Linked DNA regions of Homo sapiens: region 2 is linked to region 1. Evidence: promoter capture Hi-C in human tissues and cell types (Jung and others, 2019). All regions are on one chromosome and are shown on one strand. Each heading gives the region's core, a stretch centred on a gene start or on the middle of the fragment in contact. The rest is flanking DNA. Distances are from core to core; before and after follow the strand shown. Region 1 holds the start of ABCC3 (ATP binding cassette subfamily C member 3). Region 2 has its middle 4.4 kb from the start of TILAM.

Region 1 (3,192 bases), core at 693-3,192:
CCCCACAAGCCCTAGAAAAGGAATGGGAGAGGAGGGAGAGTTGGAGGAAGCCGGTGGGTAGACAAGGTCAAAACACAGGGGCAGTGGGTGCTGATGAAGCCATGACCAGGGTCATGGAAGGGGTGGAGGAAGGTTCCCAGCTGCCTAGGCCATAGAAGCCTGGCCCACCAGGGCTGGAAGAGAGCTTAGATATCACCCTGTCCACGTTTCTCAAGAAATGAAGTCCCAGAGGCATCAAGGAGCTTATTGAGATCACACAGTGTATAAAAGGTATGGAGGGGGATTGGAGGGGACTGAGTTAGTCCCTGCCCTTGGGGACCTCTCAGATTAGCAGGGAAGACAGACTCTTCATAACTAAATATAATCCAAGGCACGCCGTAACAAGGTGTAAAGCTCTGTAAAGTATTTTGCCCAGAGATGAAGGTAGGGGGACAGGAGAGGGAGGGTATGTGTGGATGAGTGGAAAGGAAGAGGGCAGACAAAGAAGGGGCTGAAAGAACTTGCCCAGTGGAGGGGTAGAAGTCCCTGGTCTGACTGCCTGGGAAAGGGGAATCTTCTCCACTCCCACCCCTATCCCATGCCCAGCCAGATCTTGGTTCTGATAGCCTATAGCCAAGGAGACTTCCCTTCTAGTGACCTCCTGGCTGCCCAGAGAGATAGGAGGTGGCTTGCCCCTTCTGCACTCTTACTGGCTCCCACCCACACCTGCCGCTGAGCAGCCAAGGAAGGAAACACCTTCTCTTGAGAACAAGGGCCAGAAAAGGGGTCACCGGGGTGAAACTGGACAGACCTGTGGGCAAAGGCAGGGAAGAGAAGGGCCAGGGAAAGATTTGCCAGGGAGAATTCCTTCTGAGCCCCAACAAGCGGTGCTGAGTTGGCGTCTGGGATTGTGTTAAGGAAGACAGGGCAACAGCGGGATTGAGAGATGGAGGGATCCCCGCATCTGAGGGGATACCGGGAGAAGGAGAGCTGAGGCAAGCAGGAGAAGGAGAGCACTGACAAGCCCATTTTACAGATCAGGAATGTAGAGTTTCAGCCTTAGGAGGAGGACGAGGACGAGGACACTCACGTGGGGCTCCTCCTGGGGCTTCACCTGTCCTTCCCCCCCCAACCCTGATCAGGCTGAAGCAGAGGGAATTCACACATGTTGGGTGCCCACTAAGTGTGCCAGGAAATACGCTTTGCCTACCCTTTCCATTCAATCCTCAGAGAACCCTGGGAGGAAGATTCTCTTCTATGATTGTCTCTATTTTACGGATGTGAAAGTAGAGGCCCAGAGACGTGCCGAGGTGATGTGGCAAGGTCAGGGAGCCACAGAGCCTAAGAGGGCAGCAGTTTAAGAGGACATAAGAGGCCCCCGCTGGACGATGCTGCGGCCCCCACCCCCGCCTCACGGGTACACACCCGCGGAGCACACCCCGTGTGCTCCCCGTGTGGCGCCTGCCAGTGGTCTCTGGAACCTGATGGGGAAGAGGTCAGCTTCCTGATTGAGCACAGAAGCCCTTCCCATTTTACAGATGAGGAAACTGACCTCCGGAGAGGAACGTGACCTTCTCAAAGATTCCTTTTTTACTAGGAAAGATTGTTAAATCCCTCTCCCTACGTCCCCTACTCAATGACTCATCGGCCCCACGGACTTGTTCGGGAGTGGGAGCGCCTGTGTATCCCAGTTCCCCCTTGGAAATAGACTCGACTCCTGGACTGTTAGCCTCGGTATTTAGAGAGACATCCCCCTGGCTTGGCCCAGGGGCCGCTCGCAGGGGCTGTCGCCGTGCCAAGGGCCCCCCCACCTCTGCCCCAAAGTCCCTCCCAGGGAGGCGCTGTCGCAACCCGCGGGACGGGGGCAGGGAGACCGGACCCAGAGGCACTGGGGTAGGGCTCGGCAGGGCGGGTCCGGGCGGAGCGCGGGGTGCGGAGGGCGGAGGCGGCTCCGGCGCCCGCTCTGCCCGCCGCTGGGTCCGACCGCGCTCGCCTTCCTTGCAGCCGCGCCTCGGCCCCATGGACGCCCTGTGCGGTTCCGGGGAGCTCGGCTCCAAGTTCTGGGTAAGGCGCGGGGCTCCGGGGTCACTGCGCGGGGGCCAGGGTCGGCCGGCTTCGCCCGGTCCCCGCCGCCTGCCTTCCCGCGGGGCCGGCAGGTATCCCGGGACGGAGCCCCTGAGACGGCCTGGGCGCCCGGGAGGGGGCGATGGGCTCGGGAGGGAGGTTGGCTGCGCCGCCCGGAGCCGGGTCCCACGCGGTGTCGGGGACCTGCCCTGCTCTGCCCTTCCCGGCTGCAGCACTGGGGAGCCCGGGAAAGTGAGGAAGAGTGCGCGGCTGGGGCGCAAAGGCACAGTGCGTGGCTGGGTGAGTCGGCTCCATCCCAGCCCCTCCGTCGGGTGCGGAAGGGGCGTTTCGCAATCAGCCGCGGGTTCCTGATGGAGGGTCTTCCCTCAGCATCTGCCTCAGGTTAGGACTCGGTTGCCCACCTGGGCATGGATTGCCCCCAGGGCATCCAGAGCACCTGCTCAACCAGGTGTTTTGGGAGGCCGGCTGTGCAGTGTCCCACCCTTCTTAGGAAGGTTTCCTGCCACCTTCTTTTCTCTAGGTAAGACTGAGGTCTGAGAGCAGGCCATCCCCACCACTCCGGACTCAGAAGGGAGAAGCAGACCCCAGTCTGGAGACAGGTGCAGGGTGTCAGGATTCCTGTAGTCCAACTCCCTTCTCACAGATGGAGAAAGGGAGGCCCAGAGAGAGGAAGGGACTTGCCCAAAGTTACCCAGTTCAATGAAGGCAGAGCTGGGATAGAAAAACAGGCTACAGGCCAGGTGCAGTGGTTCACGCCTGTAATCCCACCCTTTGGGAGGCAGAGGTGGGAGGATCACTTCAGCCCAGGAGTTTTAGATTACTGTGAGCTATGATCGCACCACTGCACTGTGGCCTGGGCGAAAGAGTGAGACCCTGTCTCTAAAAAAATAAATAAATAAGAAAAGAAAATCAAGCCTTTGGTGACTCTCACTCCAAATCTCTTTCTAAGACAGGCTGCTCTTCAGCCTGCTGACTCCAGCCTCCAGCACAGTTCAGGTGAGCTAAGTGCATACAGCCTAGGAGCTTTCTTACCAACTTGCAAAACTTACTTGCCTCTATGAGGCAAGTGATCATGTGGTCTCCGTTTTACAGAGGGAGCTCAGATTAAAGGTGCTTCTCTGTGGTCAT
Region 2 (3,162 bases), core at 72-2,571, 420 kb before region 1:
CTGAGTAGCTGGGACTACAGGCGCACGCCACCATGTACAGCTAATCCTTAAATTTTTTTTAGAGATAAGCTCTCACATTGTTGCCCAGGCTGGTCTTGAACTCTTGGGCTCAAGTAATCCTCCTGCCTCAGCTTCCCAGAGCACTGAGATTCCAGGCGTGAGCCACTGCACCCAGCCCCATTTTGTTCTTAATAACTGTCACATTCTCCAACGTTGTGCATCCTCTAATTTGAATTTGGCTGATCCAGCTTGGGCAGATCATCTCCAGAGACATATTTTCATGTCACTTATGGGTTTTTGGTTATTATTTTTGTGATGTGTAATATCCTCAACCCAAATAATAAGCCAGTGATTCAAAAGTGGTTAATTAAAGCCTAAGAAGAGTGAGAAAAATAGTAACCCAAATACTACAACTGAGAATAGTGTTATAAAAGTAAATACGTAGTGTCCAAGCATATGGCTGGGCTAAAAAAAAAAAAAAGGAAGAAAGAAGAAAAGTAAATACATAGTGAACAAGCATCTAGTTCAAAAATATGTAAATCTCTGAGAACTGGGACACATCTGACAATTTCACACAAGTAGCTGAAAAAGTGTAAATAGTGAGTATGATGTTGAAGATCTGAACTTAACTTTACTGGACTGGTGATCTATTCCATTTTAATCCCCAGTGAGTTGTGTGTTATGAAACTTTGTCAAATAGTGGCATAAAGCCATCAAGATTTTCACATCATTTTCAAACACAGCACAGTGACCTTTCTGGTAAACCATCAGAGACTTTTCTTTTTTTTCCAGAACAAGAGCAAAATAAGCTTTCCAGGACAAAATTAATGGATTTTCCCCCAGTAAAGGCAGGAAGAAAAACAAAATGACAGAGGCAGCATTTAAAAGTGCACTCCTCTTAGTAAAACACAGCTACAAAGTAATACTATCTGAGAAGATTGTAACACAGCCGTGTTATTAATGATACACATTTCTCTCACAGAGAATGAAAAACCAACTTTTGGCAAATTTCCTTTATCAAATGACAGTGTTGGATATCACGTGGTGTCAATTGCAAATATTATGAGAAAATAGTTTGATTTTAATAAATCCGGCTATCTTATACTCCTCATTGAAAAATGTAAGTTTTTGCCCAGTGATAGTTTGTGTAATACCAAAATTTTAAAAAAGATAATGACATTTTATTCCTCTAAGGTGAGGTTTGAACTGTCAGTTATTACATATATTGTCATCTGAGCAAGCTGTTTAAGATCTTAGAACTGATCTTCAGTGGCCTAGTCAATGACTTAAGGAAATGGTTTCATTTCATCTTTTTCAAACATTCTTGTGGCCCCATGTGAAGCTGGCTAAAAATCAATGATGTGCTGCTGGGTCTGGTGACTCATGCCTGAAATTCCAGCATTTGGGAGGCCAAAGCGGGTAAATTGTTTGAGTCCAGGAGTTCAAGACCAGTCAGGGCAACATGGCAAAACCTTGTCTCACAAAAAGTACAAACAAAATCATCCAGACATGGTGGTGCATGCCTGTGGTTCCAGCTACTGGGGTGGGGTGGTGAGGAGCTGAGGTGGGAGGATCACTTGAGCCTGGGAGGCAGAGGCTGCAGTGAGCTGAGATCATGCCACTGCTCTCCAGTCTGGGCAACAGAGTGAGACTCTTTCTCAAACAAAACAAAACAAAACCAAAACCCCCCCCATTTCTCCACTCAAGGCCACTTCTGAGATCCTGAGTGACTTGCTCAAATGGCAATATATTCAATATCTGTATTGTCCAGACATCACCAATTACAATATTTACTGTTGAGGAGCAAGTTAGCAGAATTTCTTAAAACCAAACAGCAGTATGACTGCTCCATTTTTATTTTGATTCTTTTTCAGCACTTGGTGATTTTGTTTCTGAGCAGGAGAAAGGAATCGGTGACATATTATTAAGACTATTTAAAAACCACATCCAAACATTACTCAGAACTTAAAGAATTCTTTCCGGAGTCAAATTCAACCAAAGAAAGGATTATGACTCTGCTTGCTCCCCCCCACCGCCGCCCCCCTCTCCCTGGGTGAAATACTTAGTCTTCTGGCTTTTGAAAGCTTTGTACCTGTTGACCTAATGTCCGAGAGAGGGGAGAGCAGTCTTTAGGAAGAAAGAGGTCTGTGATTTCTGAATTCTTGTTTGGTCTGAATCCAGAACCATCTGTCAGAGCCACCAAACATTTGCTGCCATTTCTAATGACCTATAATTGTGGTTTAGGATTTTTCTAATTTGGTACGAATAAGGAATAAGAAAAGAAACTGACAGGATATGAAAACTCCTTATGGCTCCTACTGTCACACAGGGCGCAGACGTACTGGCGGAAATTTTCAGAAGGTATCATCACCCTCCCTGATATGTAACAATTATCCTTCATGTTACTTTTACACAGTTGCATTTCAAAAATGATTTTAGAAATACACTGTTGTTTTAAAACTTGTTTAAAGTGGGTGGTTGATGTATGAGCTCAATGCCCAGTAAGGGCTGCTGATGTTGAGTGTGAGAACACTCCCGTTGCTGCCGAGGCTGCATTCCATGGCAGATAAAGAAATCCCATAGGGAATCCAGGGAGGCCCCTAGGATCCTGTGAGCCCTGCTTGTCCAGCGCAGCCCTGCTGTGTTAGCTGAGCTGACCCTTGTCACAGCCTTCTGGTGGGTCACTAGCTCTTGCTCAAACAAAAGCAATGCTCTGCTCCATGTCCAACAGCTCTGTCCCAGCTGTTCTGCTCAAAGTCCAGTGAGGAAAATGCTAGTATCCCCATTTTATAGACGAGAACCCAGAAGCTCAGAGAGCTTCTCCCCAAAGCCACCCAGCTTGGAGGGGAGAGGCTAGGAGAGGACCCAGAAACTTTTTATGCTCCTTGCCCCAAAGACTCTTTCCCCCAGACTTGGATGTCTGCAAAAAGACCTAAAGGACAGTGTCCAGAATGCTCGGGTTTACTTAGGACTCAGGTCCAGACGCCTGCTTACATTGTCTCAATCTTTACAACGGTCTTCACAATGAGATACATGGGTCATTAGCTCTGCTTTACAGATGAGGAAACCGAGGTTCAGAGAGGTTAAGTCACTTGCCCTTGGTCGCATTGCAAATGAATGGCGACTTCTGCTTCAAACTGAGGTCTGGCAGCTAAGTGTGGG

What was found. The method cuts DNA at HindIII sites, captures the fragments that hold promoters and counts their contacts. A contact is called where the count stands out against the background at its distance.
Region 2: a contact is called between a fragment that was not itself captured here and the fragment with the promoter of ABCC3 in region 1, in 2 of the 25 tissues and cell types used here (liver and thymus).

The regions. Positions count from the first base shown.
Region 1 is chr17:50,632,939-50,636,130 of GRCh38, forward strand. It overlaps ABCC3 (ATP binding cassette subfamily C member 3), which reads left to right and starts at 1,943. Exons shown (of 31, transcript NM_003786.4): 1 at 1,943-2,043. The coding sequence starts at 1,999. RefSeq lists a silencer at 1,913-1,962. The HindIII fragment of the contact is 6,790 bases long and covers 1-3,192 here.
Region 2 is chr17:50,217,537-50,220,698 of GRCh38, forward strand. No RefSeq gene overlaps it. Among named protein-coding and RNA genes, the nearest start is that of TILAM, 4.4 kb to the left of the region's middle. RefSeq lists enhancers at 1,192-1,486, 1,488-1,537 and a silencer at 1,192-1,486. The HindIII fragment of the contact is 4,120 bases long and covers 1-3,162 here.